Linked DNA regions of Homo sapiens: regions 1, 2, 3, 5, 6 and 7 are each linked to region 4. Evidence: promoter capture Hi-C in human tissues and cell types (Jung and others, 2019). All regions are on one chromosome and are shown on one strand. The core of a region is centred on a gene start or on the middle of the fragment in contact, and the rest is flanking DNA. Distances in the headings are between cores, read along the strand shown.

The links. The method cuts DNA at HindIII sites, captures the fragments that hold promoters and counts their contacts. A contact is called where the count stands out against the background at its distance.
Region 1: a fragment that was not itself captured here is called in contact with the fragment with the promoter of TWIST1 in region 4 in 1 of the 25 tissues and cell types used here (H1 embryonic stem cells).
Region 2: a fragment that was not itself captured here is called in contact with the fragment with the promoter of TWIST1 in region 4 in 1 of the 25 tissues and cell types used here (aorta).
Region 3: a fragment that was not itself captured here is called in contact with the fragment with the promoter of TWIST1 in region 4 in 1 of the 25 tissues and cell types used here (mesendoderm cells).
Region 5: a fragment that was not itself captured here is called in contact with the fragment with the promoter of TWIST1 in region 4 in 3 of the 25 tissues and cell types used here (H1 embryonic stem cells, IMR-90 fibroblasts and heart right ventricle).
Region 6: a fragment that was not itself captured here is called in contact with the fragment with the promoter of TWIST1 in region 4 in 1 of the 25 tissues and cell types used here (dorsolateral prefrontal cortex).
Region 7: a contact is called between a fragment that was not itself captured here and the fragment with the promoter of TWIST1 in region 4, in 1 of the 25 tissues and cell types used here (aorta).

Annotation. Positions count from the first base shown.
Region 1 is chr7:19,375,804-19,378,939 of GRCh38, forward strand. No RefSeq gene overlaps it. Among named protein-coding and RNA genes, the nearest start is that of FERD3L, 230 kb to the left of the region's middle. The HindIII fragment of the contact is 3,576 bases long and covers 1-3,136 here.
Region 2 is chr7:18,755,982-18,759,384 of GRCh38, forward strand. All of the region lies in intron 14 of HDAC9 (histone deacetylase 9), which reads left to right. Among named protein-coding and RNA genes, the nearest start is that of HDAC9-AS1, 140 kb to the right of the region's middle. The HindIII fragment of the contact is 3,943 bases long and covers 1-3,403 here.
Region 3 is chr7:18,736,999-18,740,468 of GRCh38, forward strand. All of the region lies in intron 13 of HDAC9 (histone deacetylase 9), which reads left to right. Among named protein-coding and RNA genes, the nearest start is that of HDAC9-AS1, 160 kb to the right of the region's middle. The HindIII fragment of the contact is 3,301 bases long and covers 1-3,176 here.
Region 4 is chr7:19,115,824-19,119,150 of GRCh38, forward strand. It overlaps TWIST1 (twist family bHLH transcription factor 1), which reads right to left and starts at 1,813. Exons shown (of 2, transcript NM_000474.4): 1 at 848-1,813; 2 at 1-308. The coding sequence starts at 1,498. The coding sequence ends at 890. RefSeq lists enhancers at 820-1,079, 1,103-1,886, 2,960-3,327. The HindIII fragment of the contact is 7,370 bases long and covers 1-3,327 here.
Region 5 is chr7:19,403,675-19,407,233 of GRCh38, forward strand. LOC105375179 (a long non-coding RNA gene) reads left to right here. Exons shown (of 6, transcript XR_007060244.1): 5 at 27-89; 6 at 1,658-2,229. Among named protein-coding and RNA genes, the nearest start is that of FERD3L, 260 kb to the left of the region's middle. The HindIII fragment of the contact is 4,859 bases long and covers 1-3,559 here.
Region 6 is chr7:19,567,018-19,570,365 of GRCh38, forward strand. No RefSeq gene overlaps it. Among named protein-coding and RNA genes, the nearest start is that of MIR3146, 140 kb to the right of the region's middle. The HindIII fragment of the contact is 5,624 bases long and covers 1-3,348 here.
Region 7 is chr7:18,772,720-18,775,921 of GRCh38, forward strand. The region is part of intron 16 of HDAC9 (histone deacetylase 9); the gene reads left to right. Among named protein-coding and RNA genes, the nearest start is that of HDAC9-AS1, 130 kb to the right of the region's middle. The HindIII fragment of the contact is 4,534 bases long and covers 1-3,202 here.

The DNA.
Region 1 (3,136 bases), core at 232-2,731, 260 kb after region 4:
ACTGTGTTCTCTGAATCTATATCAGAGAGATGAACAGATATTGCCTTCTGAATGGAAGTCAGGGACCAGGAATCTACTTCTTTTTTGGTTATCCTAGCTGAGCTATCTTTTTCAATTGGAAGTCACTTACTCTAGCCTTTAACTTGCTGAAGTGTGTTCCTGGCCAACAGACAAAATGGACTTCCCCACGGCTAACAGAAGTGCTTAAAGTTGAAACAGAACTATGCAGCCATAGCTGGGTGAGGGAGCCATCAGTAACTCTATGTTCTCAGAAAGATGTTGTGAAAGTATCATGAAACCTTCTTTTCTACAATCAAGCAAAACCAGTTCCTGTTGTCAGGCCTGGATCAGAAAGCCAGAACCTCACCCAGCTTCATGCCATCACATGCCCTCTTGCACACCCACCACTGCCCTTTGAAAGAAACATAAGACAGAGACTTCTGGTTTGGGGCTTTGAAACAAACCAGTCAGCTCTTACTTGCCCCAGCCAATCAAGGCTCAGCTGCACTGACCAATCAGAACTAAGGAAGATTCAATCTTTCATTTGCATAAACAGATCTGATTGGCAACCCAGGCAGGAGTTTCTTGCTATAAAACTTGAACCCTCTCCTTGTTTTCTAGAATGTGCACCTTCATTTTTACACTAGAGGCTGCATCTCCCAGGATTTGGTTCACTGAAACAAAATCTCTTTCCTTCAAATTCCTTGTCAGAGAATGTTTACAAACTCTTTTGCCACAAGTCGTCTCTATTTCTTTATCATTATTTTAATGTGATGGAAGTTATCCATCCTTCATGTGATATATATGATATATTTTGAGAAGATGAAAAGGTCCAAGGCATAATTTTCATTGACTTCCTCTTTCTGGAAGTCCTTCCTGCCACTTCTGTACGTCCATAGTTCTGCGTTTTTACTTTTCTGGTGTACTTCTCTCTTTTAGTTGTGTGGTGTAGTTATGGCTGTGCTTGTTTTATCTTCTTTCCCTGAGTGCACATTCTGATAAGATAGCAAGAGCAATGATTCATCACTTACCACCCTTTTTAGTCCTAGTCTGGTGCTCAGTGTGTTGTAGAAATTCAGTGACAATTATTGAAATAAATCTTTAACATGAAATATTATTTCAGTATAATGCAACTTTTGCTTAATGTCTCTCAATATTCAATATTGTTTGAATGCTACCCAAATCACATAACTCTAAGTTATCAGAACAGAAGGTGCATAGAGTAAACATCTCTCTGTGGGTACATGCCTTTTGTTTTTAGTGTGGATTATATTTTTTCCTCAGGATTTTGGAAAGCCCAAAGTGGCTTCTAAATATTTTAAACATAGAGACATCTCTAGCTTTCTGAATGATTACAAAAGCCATTTCTACTTAAATTAAGCCTGCTTCACGTGTTATAGTTTTATGTAATTTCTTCAGCTTTTTAATAGTCTATACAGTTTAGTAACTGCACGATGTTTAAGGTGTTTGGATGCCATTTGGAAGCTTCATAAAAGGAGGTCACTTAGAGTTCAGAAATGTTTAGAAAAGAGAAAAAAAATCTTAGGAAGGTTCTCTTTGGAGTTAGCAATTCAGAACCTCTTCTTTGTTTGCATTCAAGATACAATATGCCAAGCTAAGATTATCTGTTTTGAATCAGGAAAAAAGCAAAGTTAAAAACAGAGCAAAGTAAGTTGTGTCATATATAAGGGAATATCTCAAGTCTCTTGTGCTTGCGTTGTTTAAAAAAATTGTATTTGTAAATTTATGGTATTTTAAAGTGATGCGCTTACTGAGTTTGAAAAAGAAATTTATAAAAAGAATAACAGAAAGTTTCATTGCTCTGCCTAAAGTTATGGCTCATAATTTTGGAACATATGCTCTAAGCTGTGTCATGAAGTGGTGGGGGGGGGGGGTGCTTCTGAGTCATCCCCCTTCTTGTTTAGCCTAGAGAGAAGTAGAATTTAAGATAGCCATTTATGCATCTACACATACTTAAAATGTAGCCCGCCAGAGCAGAGGATCCATTGAGAGAAAAAGACAGGGGAGACGGAAGTGACCAATAGCTAGCTTCTGGCTGGATAAAAAATTGACACATAACTTCTGGCTTCCCCTCAAGTGGAGCTTTTGCGAGGGATTTATAGGTCAGATAGCTCAGCAGTTTGAGCTTGTTGCCCACCGTACCTTAACAAAGCTTGTGCGTGTTTGTACAGCTGGACTGGTAGCTGTGGGAGTCCCGAGAATCCCACAGCCCTCCCGTCCCTGTACCTCCCCTTCGCCATTTACCAGCACACAAATACACACAGAATGAAACTGTCTGACTAGCAGGTTAAAGGCCCACAATTCAAGCCCTGTTTATTTTCTTTCCTTGATTTCCTGCTGCTACAGTGAGTAAATGATATTTTTCCCCCTTGCTTTTTTTTTAACCTGTTTGTCTATCAATGTCTGCTAGGGAATGGAAGAAATACTAACATTTTAAAATAGTTTATGTGACACACGCTTTGGTGTACTATTTTAAACTTCTCTCCCTCTCTCCCCATCTTTCTCTGAAGCTCTCTCCACTCTCATCTTTTTCTTATATTTCGGGGAGAAGGAATTTACCCAAAGGAAGGAAAGAAAAACATCCCCGAAGTCTTCAAGTGTAACTTCACCCTGAGGAAGGGTGTTATTTTAATTACTGCTGAACCCATTCTGTAGGGAGGCCTGTAAATGCTTGATGCAGCTAGTAGAGTGGCAGTTAATATGCCTTTTGAATCAGTGCCACAAACTACAAAGACTGCCATCTGGGGAGGTATTACATTTTTAAGAAAAAAATAGCTGAGACTTTTCTTTAAATGAGCTTGTAAATTCCAGTCAATCTTAAGTTCATTTCATTTTTTTTCCAAAAAATTCTTTCATATGAAATATTTAAAATTGTATTAATTAACCAGACAAGGAACAGCGATTCTGAATATCAACGACTATGACTATACTTATAGGTTTGATTGGTGTGTTTGTATTTTGAGTTGTTTACTGTCATCTCCAACAGCAAGTTCACTAAATCTCTTTAATTTGAAAAGAACCAAACTGATGAAGAAAAGTTTTTTGCGTGCTTAATATTCCCGAGTTATCTTTTTTTCCTACCAGGAAAAAAGTTTTACTTATAAAGCAAAGGTAG
Region 2 (3,403 bases), core at 216-2,715, 360 kb before region 4:
CAGTTATGAGCAGTAAGTATGGACAGCTCCCTCTAACACGTGGTTCTTGACCTAAGCTACCCATTAGAATCCTCTGGGTGGTTGGAAACATCTGGGTGCCCAAATTGCACCCAGACAAAGGTAATAAGGTAGGACCCAGGCATCAGTAACTTTTAAACTTCCCCAGCTGATTCCAAGGTGCAGCCAATGTTAAGAACTACTGAAACAGAAACACAACTTCTTAACATAATCTTAACGAGATAGAGACAAATAGGCAAGTGAATCAAATATTTGGAGATGGGAAAGTAACAGAAGTAAGCATTAACCTGAGAAACAAAGATGACACTAACTCACAAGTGTCGTACATAATTTTCAAAAATTATTAAAAGCGTTTATTATTTTGAAGTTGTCACAGGATAGGAATATGAGCTGTGAAAAATTCTCTTATTTTTCAATTATGATTAAGCTTATAAGAAACAAGCATCATGGAATAGCTGGACTCCTTTTGAAAATCCTTATTCAGGTTTCCTGTTTGGCCTCAACCTCAGTAATTTATCATTGCAATTATTTTATTTGCTTGCCTAAGGCAAATGCATAAATCAAAGCGAAGCGTGTTTTATTGCATTTCTATTGCGTGTAAGGTTATTTCACATAGAATCCTATCATCTTAAGGCTAAAAATGAGCTTTGACATAATTTAGTCAAACATCTTTATGTTCATAGATGAAGAAACAAAGGCCCATAGAGATATCTCATGGCTGACTATAGGCACATTAAGGACACGTGGGAGTCAGGACCAGAAGTCAAGGCTCCCAACTTGCAATTCTCTTTTTTTCCATGTGACCCACAGAAAGGACCAAAAGCCTGTTAGGCCACCTGCCTGCTTGATTGCCTCCTTCCTTCTTTCACTCCCCAACCTTTTTTTTTTTTTATGAGAAAAACTCTGAGAAGTACAGGTTATTACACGAGGAGGGTTGTGTGGAAGATTGTGCAGTTGCAGGGGCAGTTAAAAACCATTTCTTACGTAACATTTTAAGAAGCAGTTGGTTGGAGCATTTTAAAACTCCAGTAGTTGTGCTTAGGCATAAGCAATGAGATCATATTTTTATGTTTTTTTTTAAGAAAGACAGATAGATAAAAAAATCAATAAGACCATGAATTGACTCATTAAATATTAAGTATGGTATTTGTGGCAGAGTGTAACTTTGACACTAAGAAGTCATTTATGATTCTTTATTTTCTTCATTTTTTTAACCTTTGAATTTCTTCAGCCCTGGATTTTTGGAGAAAATAAATGAAACCACATCCCTTTATTTAGAGACAATGGATGAAATATTTTCAGAAAATGGGATATTTCAGTGGAAATTCTTGCCTGGTATGTCACCACTTTGAAAATGATTAAAGAAAATGGAGTTTTCCCCAGTGGAGGCAGGTACTCTGACTTGTCAAATTTAAGTTGGACATTTTCTCTTAGTTTGGAACTGCCACAAAATGAGCCCTTTCATGTCCACAATAATACCAAACCAATGCAACCCATCTGTTCTGCTAAATTATTTCTAGTTCCCTAACCAAAGGCACTGCTTTTTCATGCATTTTATCATGATTTTTTGCCCTTTATTATATTTTACAAAAGGTTCTGATTCCTCCAGGGCCAATGAGAACTGATTAGGACACTGGCCTCAATCCAGGCTTTGAACACAGGAGGGAAAGGAATAGAACTGTTTCCTTTTTTCCCTGCTCCTTGGCAGAAAAAAATATGAATCTATATCGTGTGTGTGCTCTGTGTGTGGGTGGGTGTGGGTAGGCTGCATTTTATCCTGTCACAGTATGACTTTGTAGATCATGTTCAGAACATTTCTTCTATAATCGGGATGCATTAACGGGCTCTCTTTCAGAAAGACTATTTCTTTAAGAAAGAACCATGGTGTGTTGTGAGACTCAATGATATGGTCATTTTAAATAACTTTAGTCAAACTCCCAACCTGAATATAGACTGTTTAGGGTTCTGAACTAAACATGATCATATTCCTAACCACAGAGTAAGTGCTCAGTGAGCATAGCTCCTTTTCAGACTCTCAGGGAAGAAACTAAGTGCACGTCACAGGGAACGATAAGGTAACAATGAACACAGTCCTACATCACAAATTTCTTTATTAAGAAGGTGACAAAAGCTATGAGGTTTCATTCCTAGGCCTGTGTTGGTAAGGCATTTAAGACCCGTATTGACTCCAGGTGAGAAATCCCCAGATGAAATCCATTCCTTATTTGCATTGTGTGCCCCAATATGCTCAGAATTCTTAAAAATCTTTTTGGGCAGGCTATCATAGATAACTTTACGTAGATATCCTTCGGACCAAGTATCTCTGAGAATAGAAATCAGTACTCCCTAAATTAAGATTATCAGAAAACTTTAGCCTATTTTTTGACTCTTTATGCTATTGACCTTTAACTCAAGAGAGCCTTGAGAGAGAGAAATGAAAGAATAAAGGGTGCGCAGAAAGTTGAAAATATGAGAAGTGATTACGTGGGAATATCTATATTTAAGCCTACACAAATAAAATACTAAATTACTGATGGCAATACCAGAAAATGGGAACTGGTGAAGATCTCAATATGAAAGGAAAAGTTGAATGTGACAAATTTAAGGCATTTATACAAGTGAGGCAAAACGGAATTACTCCAGGAGATCCTATGTGTTAAGGAATAAAGAAAGCTGTTGCTCTTTCAGAATTTTCAGCTTAATCATCCACCAAATTCTCCTAGCAGTGTCTCTGTGAGATACAAATTTCAAAACATGCTTTTTCCAGATCCTGTCTACAGGTAGAAACATTTTTTTTTTTTTTTGGTACTGAATTAGTTTTCACTGCTCTCTTTCTGTAGAAACATGTGCACTATGTTTGTGGGCTGTTCTCTAGCAACCAAAGAAGCAGAAGGTGATTGCCAAGAATAAGTACTTCCTTATATTTAGTGAAATTATTTTTTAAAAATACTTTTAATAATAATAATAAGAGCCAGTGTAAAATAGTTGCTTAGAGTCAAAAGAAAGAATAAGGAGAAGGAGAAAAAGATAAATCAAAGTGAAAACTTAGGAATAGTGGTACATTTTAATGGCAAGGATGGGGCCTAGAGTATAACTAGCGGAGAAAACTGTTAGATTAAGTCAATGCTAGATAGCTGGGCCAAATGAGCTGTCTTTACTGTTAGTTGACTGATCTTACACAAGGGGATGACCGATTCAGCAGGTTTCTTCTTATCAGGGGTCCCCAAACCCTGGGCCACGGACCACTACTGGTCCATGGCCTGTAAGGAACCAGGCTGCACAGCAGGAGGTGAGTGGCAGGTGAGTGAGTGAAGCTTCATCTGTATTTTCAGCTGCTCCCTGTTGCTTGCATTACCGTCTGAGAACAGCAGCGACATTAGATTCC
Region 3 (3,470 bases), core at 276-2,775, 380 kb before region 4:
TAGATTTTCTAGTTTATTTGCATAGAGGTGTTCATAGTATTCTCTGATGGTAGTTTGTATTTCTGTGGGATTGGTGGTGATATCCCCTTTTTCATTTTTTATTGCGTCTATTTGATTCTTCTCTCTTTTCTTCTTTATTGGTCTTGCTAGCAGTCTATCAATTTTGTTGATCTTTTCAAAAAACCAGCTCCTGGATCATTGATTTTTTGAAGGGCTTTTTGTGTCTCTATCTCCTTCAGTTCTGCTCTGGTCTTAGTTATTTCTTGCTTTCCGCTAGCTTTTGAATTTGTTTGCTCTTCCTTCTCTAGTTCGTTTAACTGTGATATTAGGGTCTTGATTTTAGATCTTTCCTGCTTTCTCTTGTGGGCATTTAGTGCTATACATTTCCCTCTACACACTGCTTTAAATGTGTCCCAGAGATTCTGGTAAGTGGTGTCTTTGTTCTCACTGGTTTCAAAGAACATCTTTATTTCTGCCTTTTTTTCGTTATTTACCCAGTAGTCATTCAGGAGCAGGTTGTTCAGTTTCCATGTAGTTGTCCAGTTTTGATTAGAATATAGTTTTCATTAGAATTAATTAGAACTTAATCCTGAGTTCTAATTTGATTGCACTGTTGTCTGACAAACAGTTTATTGTGATTTCTGTTCTTTTACATTTGCTGAGGAGTGCTTTATTCCCTATGATGTGGTCAATTTTAGAATAAGTGCGATGTGGTGCTGAGAAGAATGTATATTCTGTTGATTTGGGGTGGAGAGTTCTGTAGATGTCTATTAGGTCCGCTTGGTGCAGAGCTGAGTTCAAGTCCTGGATATCCTTCTTAACCTTCTATCTCATTCATCTGTCTAATATTGGCAGTGGGGTGTTAAAGTCTCCCATTATTATTGTGTGGGAGTCTAAGTCTCTTTGTATGTCTCTAAGGACTTGCTGTATGAATCTGGGTGCTCCTGCATTGGGTGCATATATCTTTAGGATAGTTAGCTCTTCTTGTTGAATTGATCCCTTTACCATTATGTAATGGTGTTCTTTGTCTCTTTTGATCTTTGTTGGTTTAAAGTCTGTTTTATCAGAGACTAGGATTGCAACCCCTGCTTTTTTTTGCTTTCCATTTGCTTGGTAGATCTTCCTCCATCCCTTTATTTTGAGCCTATGTGTGTCTCTGCAGGTGAGATGGGTCTCCTGAATACAGCACACTGATGGATCTTGACTCATTGTCCAATTTGCCAGTCTGTGTCTTTTAATTGGGGCAGTTAGCCCATTTAAATTTAAGGTTAATATTGTTATGTGTGAATTTGATCCTGTCATTATGATGTTAGCTGGTTATTTTGCCCATTAATTGATGCAGTTTCTTCATAGCATCAATGGTCTTTACAATTTGGCATGTTTTTGCAGTGGCTGGTACCAGTTGTTTCTTTCCATGTTTAGTGCTTCCTTCAGGAGCTCTTGTAAGGCAGGCCTGGTATTGACAACATTACTCAGCATTTGCTTATGTATAATGGATTTTATTTCTCCTTCACTTATAAAGCTTAGTTTGGCTGGATATGAAATTCTGGGTTGAAAATTCTTTTCTTTGAGAATGTTGAATATTGGCCTCCACTCTCTTCTGGCTTGTAGGGTTTCTGCAGAGAGATCCGCTGTTAGTCTGATGGGCTTCCCTTTGTGGGTAACCCGACCTTTGTGTCTGGCTGCCCTTAACACTTTTTCCTTCATTTCAACCTTGGTGTATTTGATGATTATGTGTCTTGGGGTTGCACTTCTTGAGGAATATCTTTGTGGTGTTCTCTGTACTTCCTGAATTTGAATGTTGGCCTGCCTTGTGAGGTTGGGGATGTTCTCCTGGATAGTATCCTGAAGAGTGTTTTCCAAGTTGTTTCCCTTCTCCTCATCACTTTCAGGTACACCAATCAAATGTAGATTTGGTCTTTTCACATAGTCCCATATTTCTTGCAGGCTTTGTTCATTTCTTTTTACTCTTTTTTCTCTAACCTTGTCTTCTCACTTCATTTCATTAATTTGATCTTCAATCACTGATTCCCTTTCTTCCACTTGATCAAATCAGCTATTGAAGCTTGTGCATGTGTCATGAAATTCTTGTGCCATGGTTTTCAGCTCCATCAGGCCATTTCAGGTCTTCTCTACACTGTTTATTCTAGTTAGCCATTCATCTAATCTTTTTTCAAGGTTTTTAGCTTCCTTGAGATGGGTTCGAACAAGCTCCTTTAGCTCAGAGATGTTTGTTATTACCAACCTTCTGAAGCCTACTTTTGTCAACTTGACAAATCATTCTCCATCCAGCCTTGTTCCATTGCTGGCAAGGGGCTGAAATGCTTTGCAGGAGAAGAGGCACTCAGGCTTTTAGAATTTTCAGCTTTTCTGCTCTGGTTTCTCCCCATCTTTGTGGTTTTATCTACCTTTGGTCTTTGATGTTGGTGACCTACAGATGGGGTTTTGGTGTAGATGTCCTTTTTGTTGATGTTGATGCTATTCCTTTCTGTTTGTTAGTTTTCCTTCTAACCATCAGGTCCCTCAGCTACAGGTCTGTTGGAGTTTGTTGGAGGTCCACTCCAGACCCTGTTTGCCTGGGTATCACCAGTGAAGGCTGCAGAACAGCAAATATTGCAGCCTGATCCTTCCTCTTGAAGCTTCTTCCCAGAGAGGCAGCTGCCTATATGAGGTGTCTGTCGGTCCCTACTGGGAGATGTCTCCCAGTTTGGCTACATGGGTGTCAGGGACCCACTCGAGGAGGCAGTCTGTCCATTCTCAGAGCTCAAATGCCGTGCTGGGAGAACCACTTCTCTCTTCAGATCTGTCAGACAGGGACGTTTAAGTCTGTAGAAGTTGTCTGCTTCCTTTTGTTCAGCTATGCCCTGCCCACAGAGGTGGAGTCTGTAGAGGCAGTAGGCCTTGCTGAGCTGCAGTGGGCTCTGCCCAGTTTGAGCTTCCCAGCTGCTTTGTTTTAGCTACTCAAGCCTCAGCAATGGCAGACACCCCTTCCCCAGCCAGGCTGCTCCCTCACAGTTCCATCTCAGACTGCTCTGCTAGCACTGAGCAAGGCTCTATGAGCGTGGGACCTGCCAAGCCAGGCACGGAAGAGAATCTCCTCGTCTGCCGATTGCTAAGACCTTGGGAAAAGTGCAGTATTTGGGCAGAAGTGTCCCGTTTTTCAGGTACAGTCTGTCATGGCTTCCCTTGGCTAGGAAAGGGAAATCCCCCAACCCCTTGTGCTTCCTGGGTGAGGTGATGCCCTGCCCTGCTTCAGCTCGCCCTCCGTGGGCTGCACCCACTCTCCAACCAGTCTTATTGAGATGAACCAGGTACCTCAGTTGGAAATGCAGAAATCCCCCATCTTCTGTGTCAATCACAGAAGACCTGCAGACCAGAGCTGTTCCCATTTGGCCATTTTGGAATGGACCCAATCAGTGATCTTTTTATAGTACTCTTGTAATTGTTTTGGGGAACCATGAACCACACCC
Region 4 (3,327 bases), core at 563-3,062:
ATGCATGAAAAAAATAAAAATAAAAACATTCTTCGTCAAAAAAAAAAAAAAAAAAAACACAAACAACTGTTCAGACTTCTATCAGAATGCAGAGGTGTGAGGATGGTGCCGCTGCCCGTCTGGGAATCACTGTCCACGGGCCTGTCTCGCTTTCTCTTTTAAAAGTGCGCCCCACGCCCTGTTTCTTTGAATTTGGATTTTGCTCTTCTAATTTCCAAGAAAATCTTTGGCATATATTTTTATTTTTAGTTATCCAGCTCCAGAGTCTCTAGACTGTCCATTTTCTCCTTCTCTGGAAACAATGACATCTGCAAAAACCCAGAGGGGGGGGGGGGAGTCGGTTATTGTTTAGGTCTCTGCGGCTGTTTTCTAAGACTAGTGAGCACTGTTCTTATCACCACCACTGAGAAATTAAGCTGAACAACCTGGAAGGATTTCAGCCCAAGGGCAAGAGGAAGTGGGTGGGTGGAAAGGAGGAGGAGGTGGAATTTGTTTTAAAACATTTGTTTTAAGGAGAACAAAAATTGAAAGCCGAAAGAAAGGGTGGCGCTGACAAAACGGTCCTTACCCGTGACCCTGGGTGTCTCTGTCTCCCCTCCTGTCACGCACACTCACGCGCACACACACCCCTCACCAGGGCGCATCCCCCTGGAGACTGCTCTCCCTAGCGGGGTCAGACCGGCCTTCCGGGGACGCTGGGGGCGCGAGGCAACGGTGCCAAGTGAGGTGGGAAGGCTGAGCGGAGAGTGGGAGAGGGGAGGAAATCGAGGTGGACTGGGAACCGCGGCCTGGCCGGCCTGCCGTCTGCCACCTGAGAGGCGAAGGGGTGCAGCGGCGCGGTCCTTACCTAGGTCTCCGGCCCTGCTGAGGGGGTGGGGGGCTCCGCCTGCTAGTGGGACGCGGACATGGACCAGGCCCCCTCCATCCTCCAGACCGAGAAGGCGTAGCTGAGCCGCTCGTGAGCCACATAGCTGCAGCTTGCCATCTTGGAGTCCAGCTCGTCGCTCTGGAGGACCTGGTAGAGGAAGTCGATGTACCTGGCCGCCAGCTTGAGGGTCTGAATCTTGCTCAGCTTGTCCGAGGGCAGCGTGGGGATGATCTTCCGCAGCGCGGCGAACGCCTCGTTCAGCGACTGGGTGCGCTGGCGCTCCCGCACGTTGGCCATGACCCGCTGCGTCTGCAGCTCCTCGTAAGACTGCGGACTCCCGCCGCCGCTGCTGCTGCCGCCGCCGCCGCCCGCGCCGCCGCCGCCGCCACAGCCCGCAGACTTCTTGCCGCGCTTGCCCTGGGCCGGGCTGCCCGGCTCGTCGCCGCCTCCGACGCCCCCACCCGCGGCTCCGCCGGGCCCCGCGCCGCCGCCCGCGCTGCGCCTGCTGCTGCGCCGCTTGCGTCCCCCGCGCTTGCCGCTCGGCGGCTGCTGCCGGTCTGGCTCTTCCTCGCTGTTGCTCAGGCTGTCGTCGGCCGGCGAGACTGGCGAGCTGGACACGTCCTGCATCATCTCTCGAGCGGCGACGCGTGGCCTCGCGGGCCCGGGGCAGAGGAGAAGAGCGGGGCGCCTCAGCCCGCCAGCTTCCCCCGCGCGCGGCGCCGGCCCGGGCGATGCGGCCCGCGGAGGAGAGAGCAGGAGGACGGACGGGAGGGACCTCCGCGGGGAGGGCGCGCGGGGGAGGCGGGGAGGGAGGCGGGAGGGGGAGGGGACGGTGTGGATGGCCCCGAGGTCCAAAAAGAAAGCGCCCAACGGCTGGACGCACACCCCGCCAGGCCTCCTGGAAACGGTGCCGGTGCTGCAGAGCCCGCGAGGTGTCTGGGAGTTGGGCGAGAGCTGCAGACTTGGAGGCTCTTATACCTCCGTGCAGGCGGAAAGTTTGGGGGCAGCAGTGTCATTGGCCTGACGTGAGGAGGAGGGACTTTTCGAAGTTTTATAGGAAAGTTTCCGCTTTCCAGTCCCCCTCCCCCGTCCCACCTCCCTTCCTCGGGGTCTAACAATTCGTCCTCCCAAACCATTCAAAAACGACCTGGCCCGGGCGGCCGGCCCCTCCACCCGCCTCCTAGCCGCCCTCCCCCTTCCCTCCCCGTCGCCTTCCTCCGGCGGGCGCGGGGCGATTTCCTTCCCCGCCGGAGCGTGCGGGCAGCGCCCCCGAACCCTAGCGCAGCCCAGGAAGCGGTCGGAGGAGACTGTCCTGGCCGCGGTGGCAGCCCCATCCGGAGTGGCTGTGACAGCAGCAATGGCAACAGCTTCTACACAGTGGGTGATGTCTCATCTCGCCCAAGAGCCCTCTAGGTCCGTGGGGCCGATTTGGGATTGCTGGGGCTGGGGGGGTGGTGTGGCGCGGGGTGGGGGGGCATGCCAAGAAAAGTGTCAACCGCGGAGCCCACCCAATGGTCAGGTAGACGAACCCCTTGGAGTTCCAAAGGCCAAACCGCGGCGGCCCAGCCCGGAGGTCCTGGGCGTTTCTGAAGACGTGGCCGCGCCGCGGGGGCTGAGGATTTGCGTCCCGGCCTGCTCTCTCGCCCTTCTGGGCCCTCCTTTCCCCTCTACAACGACCCAGTCTGACGCTCCCCAACATCCAAAGGACTACGCCTCGGAAGGTGCTCGAAAGAGGCAGAAGTTCACTCTTCGGTGGAAGGAAACCCAGTCCATGGGAAAGGCAGCAGAGCCAGAGGGGGGCAGCGCAGCGCCTTTGCTGCGGCCCTAACAGCTGGCAATGCCAACCCAAGGGAGAGACCCTGTGGCCATTTCATCCCCACCCCCAAATTAGGCTCCGCATTGTGACCTTGAAAGGCCAGCTTGTAAGAGAGTGAAGTGGGAATTTGATAGCGCCTAGACATAGGGGCTGCCCGCTCTGAGACCCCCCCCGCCCCAGCCCCCACTATCTAGGGCATCCAGTGGACAATTAGGCTTCGTGAGCCCCAATTCCAAATGCTTGGATACGCTAACATTTTAAGCATTTCTGTCTGTAAGTTAAAACGAAGAGCCCCAAAGAGGGTGTTAATGTAGATCCTGGCAAACTGGAAGCAGCAAAGTTGGTGAACCAGAAAGGAAGTCGCCTTGGATAAGAAGCCCATCTTTTGCAATGCCATACTTGTTTCCTTTTTGAAATGAATTGAGGTAAAATAACCGTTTCAGGTCCATCCCTTACATGGCAAAGTAAAAAGCTGGAGTCAGTACACAGTGTTGGGGTGGGGGCAGCGTTTGGGGGCGACGAGTTTTGTGCACCGCGCTGGAGTACCCTGCACATAAGGTCCGCTCATGGGCTTCTCAGTACGGACTCGCCGGCGGGAACAATTAATTGAGCAAAGCGCCCCTTTCTGGGCTGGAGCAAGGTT
Region 5 (3,559 bases), core at 704-3,203, 290 kb after region 4:
TACTCTTTCTCTTCTCTTCATTGGAGATGATAACATTTACTTACTGCTTCACTGACATAAGAACCAGCCCTCGAGAAGAATATACAGAGGTATAGTGCAACTTTTTCTTCTAAAGCTATTGAACTATGGTAAACATCCTATGACTAAAAGAGACTTTAACAGAATTTCCCTAAGAGATTATAATCTTTTATTTATTTATTTTTTGAGATAGGGGCTTGCTGTGTCATCTAGGCTAGAGTGCAGTGCAGTAGCACAATCTTGGCTCACTGCAGCTTTGACTTCCCGGGCTCAAGCAGTCCTCCCACTTTAGCCTCCCAAGTAGCTAGGACCACATGTGCTTGCCACCAGGCCCAGCTAATTTTTATATTTTTTGTAGAGACAGGGTTTCCTCATGTTTCCCAGACTGGTCTTGAACCCTGGTCTCAATCCTGCCTGCGTCAGCCTCCTAAAATGCTGGGATTACAGGCATGAGCCACCACGCCTGGCCTATAATCTGTTTTATTTCTAAGTCACCGTTGCTCATCCTACGTTCATTCTTACAAAATGAGTTAACTATATTATTGAGTTAATCCAAAATGGAATTTTTTTATTTTTTATTTTTTTTTTTGAGATGGAGTCTCGCTCTGTTGCCCAGGCTGGAGTGCAGTGGCACCATCTCGGCTCACTGCAAGCTCTGCCTCCTGGGTTCATGCCATTCACCTGCGTCAGCCTCCCGAGTAGCTGGGATTACAGGCGTCCACCGCCAAGCCCAGCTAATTTTTTCTTTTTTTTTTTTAGTAGAGACGGGGTTTCACCGTGTTAGCCAGGATGCTCTCGATCTCCTGACCTCCTGATCCGCCCGCCTCGGCCTCCCAAAGTGCTAGGATTACAGGCGTGAGCCACCGTGCCCAGCCCAAAATGGAAATTTTTAGGAAGTTAGGTTTTGCTTGTGAAAGTGATCATACGCTGTCCTACCACTATCATTTTACTGTGGGTGCAGGAAAAGAAGAAATAAGATTTGCTCCTTAATAGATAAGCTTGGTGTTATTGACTTTAAAATGAAAATTATCCTTAAAAACCTTAAAAATCACAGCTTGCTAAATATTAGTAACTAATGCACTCACTGCTCTCTTTATATATATTTTTCAAAATGTAAAGAATTTGCTACTTAACTTTCAGCTTTATTTGAAAACTAATTTTCAACTCAGAAAACCTGTGGGTTTTGTACATTTTCAGTATAAGAGAATGGGTACTAAGTTACAGTTAGAGGCTTTAAATAAGTGGAGATTCCCATTTTGAGTGGGTGTGAGGGCACATCTGCAAATTGTAGTCCTGATTCAACTTCAGTCTGTGTTTTCCTCAGTGTGACTCATTCAGTCATCACCCAGGCTGTGTGATTACTGACTCCGAAGTATGTGAAACACTCAAACAGTTGGGATTCCTTTTGGAGCATATACAAACAACTTAAATCTTCCAATTCAGATTATGTGGTTGGGCTTAAGACCGTTATGAAGGCGGGGAGGAAAAACCTGAAGGCTGTTTGTGGCTACAGGGTGTGGTGTTGTGGGGTTGGTGGCAGAGATCTGTGGTGTTAGTTAATACAGGAAGATACTCAAGTTACATTCAGTGTAACATACCAAACTTGCAAATTCTGTCTCCCTCCCTCTCTTTCTTTCAGGAGTAGTTGCCAGCAACCTTCCTGCCAACTTGGCCCAAGGTAGGTTACTTTAGGTACACTAGAAAACCAATTTCTCTGCAGTTTTTCATCCTTATCAAACTCACCTAAAGTCTAAAGAAAAACTCTTTCTGATTATAGATATTTGTTTCAATCAGTTTTATAGGAACGGCAGTCTCTGCTCATCTCTCCTTCCTGAAATTCTAGAACTCTTTAAACACAATTGCCACAAAATTGCCATGGAAGGAAACCTTTCATCACTTTTTAAATTATTGTCTCCATTTTTCAATTCTTTGGATGTTAAAAATTGGGATATAATTTGCATACCATGATATTCACTGTTTTAAAGTGTACATGTCAGTGGTTTTTAGCTTTTATTCACAGAGTTGTGCAACCATTATCATTATCTCATTCCAGAACATGTTCGTCACCCAGAAAAGAAACCCCATACCCGTTAGCCATCACTTCCCATTCTTCCCTCTTTCTAGCTCCTGGCAACTCCTAATCTATTTTCTGTCTTTATGGATATGCCTATTCTGGACATTTCATATAATTGGAAATAAAATGTGTGGCCATTTGTGACTGGCTTCTTTCACTAGGCATAATATTTTCAAGATTCATCTATGGGTGAATAATTTTCTATTTTATGGATATACCACATTTTATTTATCCATTTATTGTTTGATGGACATCTGATCAGGAAATGAATTCCTTCCTCTTTTCTTCTTTTCTTATTTCTCTCATTTTGCTTCATATTATTCCAGTTTTTGTTAACTTTGTGATATTTGTTACAGGTTATTTGATTCCACATATGGAAAATCCTAGTCTTGCTTTCTGAACTAAAGCTCTCAAACTTTAATGTGCATACAACCACATAGGGCTCTTTTTAAAATGCAGACTCTTTAATAAGACAGGATGTGAAGCCTGTGATTCTGCATTTCTAATGAGTTCCCAGGTAAAGCTGATCCTGTTGATTTGTATATTACCCCTTGGACATCAAGGATTCCAACTATGCATTCCACTGAAGGAAAATGTTCTAATTATCATTGTTAATGCCAGGCACCCTTGTAGATGTTTTCACAAATTTTAAGTTTATCTGAATATTTTATTAATAGCTATTGAATACCTGACAGAGACCGTATAGCCCACAACGCCTAATATGTGGACTATTGAGCCCTTTATAAAAAAATTTGCTGACCCATGGTTTAAAGACATACTATATTGTGAAACAATTTAAATCAATCTACGTAGGCAAATCTATGTACAGCTTAAGAAATTAGGGATTAGAACTGGAGTAATTTAGCACTGTTGATGATCAAGAACATTTCATATGTATCACTTTTTCATGATGATACAACTGAAAAATAAAAGTGAAGTCAATATTTTTAACCATTTGAACGTGTAAAGTTTGGCTTGAATCCAACTCTGTAAATTCTGTGGATGTACCCAAGCAGCTGAAGGAGGCTGGAAAATAAAGACAAAAATAGTCACACTTTAATTTTATGATTAGCAAACTCAGCTGGACTGTTAATGAAGTATAGCAATTATTTCCCTAACCCATTTCCATCCCTACCCTTCTAGATGACTCTCCATGCTTTTTCTTCTCCATCCAAACCCCCAACACCTCATCTCCCATTCTCAATCTTAACTGATGACCCCTTCCTTTCTACTAAGGAAATAAAATCTATCAGAAGAGAATTTCCATTTGTTCCACCACTACGTCCTTCTCCACCTGCATCTTGGCCTCTACTCTGGTTTTCCTATTTCACTAGATAAATTGTGCTCTTGACAAAGGCCAAATCTATCACTTGTGCACTATATCCCAACCTCTCTGACTTACTCCGGAACATCGTGACAGCATTTCTGTTTTGCTCCTGTATCATCAAGTTTAGCTTTTCTACTAGA
Region 6 (3,348 bases), core at 440-2,939, 450 kb after region 4:
TAATTACTTGTTAAGGTTTTTTGTTTCCGTTAATTGATTAGATTCATCCTGGGAAATCCGTTTCCTCTTGCGTATAGCTGCATATATCTCCACTCAACATGTCTGTAGCTTGATCCCTAGAGGATTGAGTATTTTCACATTTACCCAGTGATTTGGGCAGAAACTATGCTGAATCACCTCAAATTTGTAAGGCTTCCACTGTCTGCTAACTGGGCTGCGTAGGTAGAGGACTACATTCAAAATCACAAGTGACTTGGATTTTACTCATGACTCAAGAATCTCTTCTACTTTTCATTGGTCAGTCACAGGTCTCCAACTTAAGGCATAGCTTAGCAGTCCACCAAAGATGTGGAGAGTTTGTTATTTTATGCCTTCTATAACTCAATTTCAAGATTTCTCCCTTAAATTCTAATGTTCTGCCTCCCACCCCACATTGAGACCATAATACCTGGCCATCATAGTTGCCAATTATTGTCTCCTATATTCTCTTCCTGAATGAGTCCACCAGCATAGCTAGTAAACCTTTGTGCCGTCAATCTTGAACTGTGCGAACCATCACTCACCACTCATAAAGCTCCAGTTTTTACTGCCTGAGCTTTGGTGGTAGTGGTGGGTGGAGGTCAGTGGTATTTTGAGCATCCCTGGGTAAGAAGCCCACAGATGTTCCATTGGTTTCCTCCAATGTAGTAGCAGGTTTTTGTTTGCTTGTTTGTTTTTGACAGAGTCTCACTCTATCCTCCAGGCTGGAGTGCAGTGGTGTGATATCAGCTCACTGCAACTTCGGCCCCCCAGTTCAAGTGACTCTTACGCCTCAGCCTCCTGAGTAGCTGGGATTACACATGCCTGCCACCACACCCGGATAAATTTTTTGTATTTTTAGTAGAGACAGGGTTCCGCCATGTTGATCAGGCTGGGTCTCAAACTCCTATCGTCAAGTGACCCACCTGCTTCAGCCTCCCAAAGTGCTGGGATTACAGGCATGAGCTACCTCACTGGCAATAGCAATTTTTAAAGAGTAAACACATATCTCATTTTGTTGTATGCCTTTGATCATTTTGCAGTATGCAGAAATACCTATCTATCTATTTGTTTCTATTTTGTGACATTTTATTCTAACTTTCTGTGGTGGAGAATGGCTTAACTTCCTCAGACAGCCATTTTTGGAGGCCTAGCACCTGAAGTTACTCATGAGAAAATATCAGACAAACCCAAACGTCATCCCTCCTGCATTAAATATACTTGATCCCTGTGGGTGGTGTTAGTTGACTGCTTCCAAGATAAAGAACCAGTATAATAGCTTCAGATTAGGCAGAGATGTTTAATGATAATATGTGTTTTATGATACTTAGACTAGATGATATGTCTTTTTTGAACAGAGGAAAACTCATGTCATTACAGGCTTAGAACCAGATAAGAAGGTGAGAAATTTTACGCAAACTAATTTAGTCCATAGTATTGCCAGAAGTAGGATGGCATTCTGTTCCTCAAATTAATAAATAAGCACTAAAATTCCTAGGAGACAGTTGAACTGGTATCTAGATATTCATAATCTGGTTATGATAAAGTCTTAACAATTATAGGAAATGTATCTTTAATCCACACTCACTGATTATGCTTTCTATCTGGTCTTGAGGAGGTTATGAGACCTACAGGTCTCTGATAAATTTGGCTCATTAGATTCAGCTATGTCATTTAGGTAATCCTCATAGAGAAAGCCCTTGTATAATAAAATGATGGAGCCATATGGTTTTAAAAAGTTTAATTCTTTCTGCCAAACAAGCACTAGAACTAGGAAAGCTTAGTTTCCTATAGAATTTCTTGGAGATAGGGTATAAGGCATTCTGATTAAATCCACATTTTATATCGCTGTCCAGAAGTAGTACATAAATCCTACAGAGCTGCTAAGACAACACAAGTGTCCTAACACATTTCAATTAATCACTAACTTAAGTCTACATGTGAAAAAGAAAGGACTAATTAATAACAGCAAAGAACCATTCACAAATTCAAGAATTATGTTCTATTTATAGTTGATGAAAATCTGTTTCTGTCAGAAGTTCTTATTAAGTCCACTAGTCACAAAGAATAAATGAAAATGAGCTTGAACTTTGAAAGTATATTTGCTCTTACACTCTGTAATAATATCTAGGCTGAACAATTCAGGCACTGCTATTACCAGCAATGTGATAAATATTTTTCTTTGTGGGCACATACGTCAATGTTAATCTTTAGAAATAGGCTTAAAGGCAGTAAGATCATTGAATCCTACAAATGTTATATGTTGTTGGTATTTTAGTGTCTCCTTACTTCCCCTCTCCCTGTACTCCACAACTTCTTTTTGAGACAGAGTGTTGCTCTGTTGCCTGGGCTGGAGTGCAGTGGTGCAATCTCGGCTCACTGCAAACTCTGCCTCCTGGGTTCAAGTGATTCTCCTGCCTCAGCCTCCCAAGTAGCTACGATTACAGGCACCTGCCACCACGCCGGGCTAATTCTTATCTCCCCTTTATGTTGCTTGAATTCTGTAGCTCAACACTATAGACATTCCTTGGTGAATTTCCTCAACTCACTCTCCTTTTCTTCCTTCAACAATCAAATCCAGGATAAACCAAACTCTGTCTTCTGCCTTACTGAATGTGTACAGCTGGGTAATGATGAAAATGATTGCATATCCTGAAAAGTTGGTATTACTATAGCTTCATGACCAAAACCTCAAATTAGTGTACAATCACAATGTTCTCAAGCTCACTCCCTTACTGTAGTACTATGCTTTTGTTACACCTTTCCTTCATATTGCAAATTTTTAATCTCCCCATCACCTATTCCTAGTATTTTTTCCTCATATTAATAATATTTCCTGAAAAAAACATGTTCCAAGTAGAGCATCCGCATCTTATTTGATGGCAACTCCTTACCAGTTTCTCAGGCTAAAATACTGGAGACCAACTTCTGTTCCCCTTTTTCTCTCACATTCCGCCTCCGATCCACCAACAAGTTCTCTTTATATTCAAAAGTTTCAGAATCTGTTCATGTCTCATATCTTCTACTGCCAATTTGATCTGACCTACAATTCTGATTATTGCAATATTTTCCCAGCAGGTCCCCTATTTCTGTCTTTACACTATTACTCTATCTCAACTTATCTATAAGAGTGAGCTTTTTGGAATGTGTTGTATTTTTTAAAAAAAACATTTTGTTTTTGACACTTAACATGAGACCTACAAACTACATGACATGTAAAGGCCTTTGTGCAAGTAGCAAATTTTAAGAGAAACTTTTCTAATTACATTGCACTTAAAGTCATATACCTTAATTTCTGGATTATTCAATTATACGATTTTCCCCCACTGC
Region 7 (3,202 bases), core at 265-2,764, 340 kb before region 4:
TGATGCAATTGATACTAGCAAGAACACCCCATGGCACCTGGCAAAATTAAAACTGATAAGCCACCTTAATGAAACTGAGAATTTAGTTTCATGCTGCAAATTCTGTAAAAAGATTATGTTGCCTCAGACTTCGAAAAAATGCATGAAATATTATTAAAGTCAGGGAATTCCTTCTAAATTGCAAAGGAAGTTTCCAGTATTGCATAGATTATGCTAATTGTGTATACTCAATAATAGTTGTTGGGATGTAGACAACACTCCCTACAGAGATACACATGTATACATTACTCTGTGTATGGGACAAAATGTGAAAATACATAGAATCATTAAGCATCTAATGTCCATTGCAGGAAAGAAGAAAATGAGAGAAGAAAACCTTAATTTCCTCCTTAATTCACTTACTTGCAGCATCTCATCTGTGATTAAATTCTTTCTATTGCTTTGACATTATGGCTAAGTACAACGAGATGCATTTTGAAATAAGAATACTTCATTTTCTTATTTAAAGTAAACATGAATATCACAAAGCTGTTAAAATTCTTCTGTTGCCAAAATGAGATGGCTAAAAAAATGCCATCATCAAAGCTTTATTTGTGTTTTTTACATTACTGGGGCCATAAGACCTATTTTTTTAAAAAACTGTATACACACACACACACACACACACACACACACACACACACACACACACAAAAGCACCTATTTCCACCAAAGTAATGTCAATAACAGGGAGGAAGAAAACGATTATGAACATTGAGACAAGAAGAAATTCAGCCTTAGGCTCTGCAGTTGCTGAAGGTAAATGGATTTGATGAAATTTAAATTTCTATCTAACTTAGAAGATCTGTGGCTCGATTAAATAAAAGCTGAGAAAGTAAAACATACTTGAATAGATTTGAAAATATGATCATCTACTGATTGCTACTTCTGACTGCCAAGGAGACGTTAGGCTTAAATCAAATGAAAATTTAGAGTAGACAAAGGAAATGGTACTACCTAAAAAAAAATAATTCTTGTAGCAGCCTGAAATACAGCTATATTCAGGCACACCTAAGCTTTTCATTTTAAGGTGAAGTAACAGCATTTGTATTTTTCATCTGTCATATTTCCACTCCGAATAGTTAGTTCCAGATCCAGATATTCACCCCCGTAACAAACTAATATTCAATATGTAAAACTGATGTGTCATTATTGGATTTGTCTTTGTGAAGTATTTTAACCACAAACTTAGTAAAGCATAACTTCTAAACTTTCATTAATGGAGAACAACAGTTTTTTTTTCAAAATTCAAAACCAAAATAAATTAGCTCACTGAATGCTTGAGCCATAAGCAGGCAGTTCACAGCAGAATCCCTAGGATTTAATCATTCCCCAACTCAAGAAAAACCCATAGCTTCTGAGTTTTAGACTAGCAGTATCATTATTGCTATAGAGTGTCTTAACTTTAAATAAAAAATAATAAGTAAAATAAAGGAATTAAATGACTAAGCAATGATTCTCTTAGCAATAGAGCATGCATTGAGTCATTATTTCTATGAAGACTGATAAGACTATTAAAGGACTAATATATTCGATATTTTTATGCTCCTGAAATCATTTGGTGAATTTATTCTGTTATATTCTAAATATTATGATTTATATAATCTCTAATTGATATTTACTATGGATACACACAGACATACCTTGGAAATATTGCAGATTCAGTTCCAGAGCAACACAGTAAAGCAAATAGCACAATAAAGTGAGTCACACAAATGTTTTGTTTCTCAGTGTATACTAAACTTATGTTTATACTGTCCTGTAGTCTATTAAGTTTACAGTAGCATTATATCTTTAAAAATGTACATAATTTTAAAACTATGTTTAAAAATCCTAATGATCATCTGAGCCTTCAGTGAGTGGTAATCTTTTTGCTGGTGCAGGGTTTTGCTTCAATATTGAGGGCCTTATTCTGGATAAAGCGTTGGCTCAAGGGAATGTGGTTGGGTTGATCTTCTGTCTAGACCACTCAAACTTTCTCCATATCAGCAGTAAGGCTATTTCACTTTCTTAGCATTTGTGTGTTCACTGCAGTAGCAGTTTCAGTTTCCTTTAAAAACTTTTCCTTTGCATTCACAACTTGGCTAACTGTTGGGCACAACAGGTCTAGTTTTCGGCCTGTCTCAGCTTTCAACATGCCTTCTTCGCTAAGCTTAATCATTTCTAGCTTTTGATTGAGAGTGTTGAGAGTGAGAGACGTGCAACTCTTCCTTTTACTTGAAGACTTAGAGGCTATCGTAGGGTTATTAACTTGTCTAATTTCAATATTCCTGAATATTAGGGAATAGGGAGGCCTGAGAAAGAGAAGAGATGGAGGAAAGACTGATCGGTGGAGCAGAAGTCACACACGATATTTATCAATTAAGTTCACTGTCTTATATGGGCACGATTCATGGTGCCCCAAAACAATTATAATAGTACTATCAAAGATGACTGATCACAGATGGGCATAAAAGATAAAATAATGATGAAAAACTTTTGAAATATTGCAGGAATTACCAAAATGTGACACAGAGACAGGAAGTGAGCACATGCTGCTGGAAAAATGACGCCCATAGACTTGCTTAACTTGGCGTTGCCACAAACCTTCAATTTGTAAAAAATCAAAGTATCTGAAAAGTGTAATAAAGTGAAGCACAGTAAAACAAGGTGTGCCTGTATCGAGTATCTTCCTGACGATCTGTAAGCACTTCTCAAAATGACTTGTATCATTTTGAGATGTGACCATTTAAGGAATAAAAACCAAGACCTACAAGTAGCGAAATTCTTTGCTGCTAAATAGATTACTTTTCTTTCCTTAATCTATTGCCTCTAAAGACAATTTACCATCCATTCATTCATTATTAAATAAGCATGTACTGTCCAATACCATCCTATGTGCTAAGTGTGAAGCAACATGTAGACTCACATTTTTTCTTATGTTGTGTTTTTTTTTTTCCTTTTCAATTCCCACTCATGTATCTTGTCATACCTATCACTTAGACTCTGCATTGATTTTCTTCTATTCATAATTGTCAACTCTGGTAGGAAAGGCCTGGGAGTTCATAGGACTAAGGACAGAAGATAGTCAGAATATCCATACTCAGTTGAACCAGATTCAAATTCAGTAGTCTAATGAAACAGTTCTACGAGATGGCCTTCTTGTCTCAGCTTTCTTTGATGG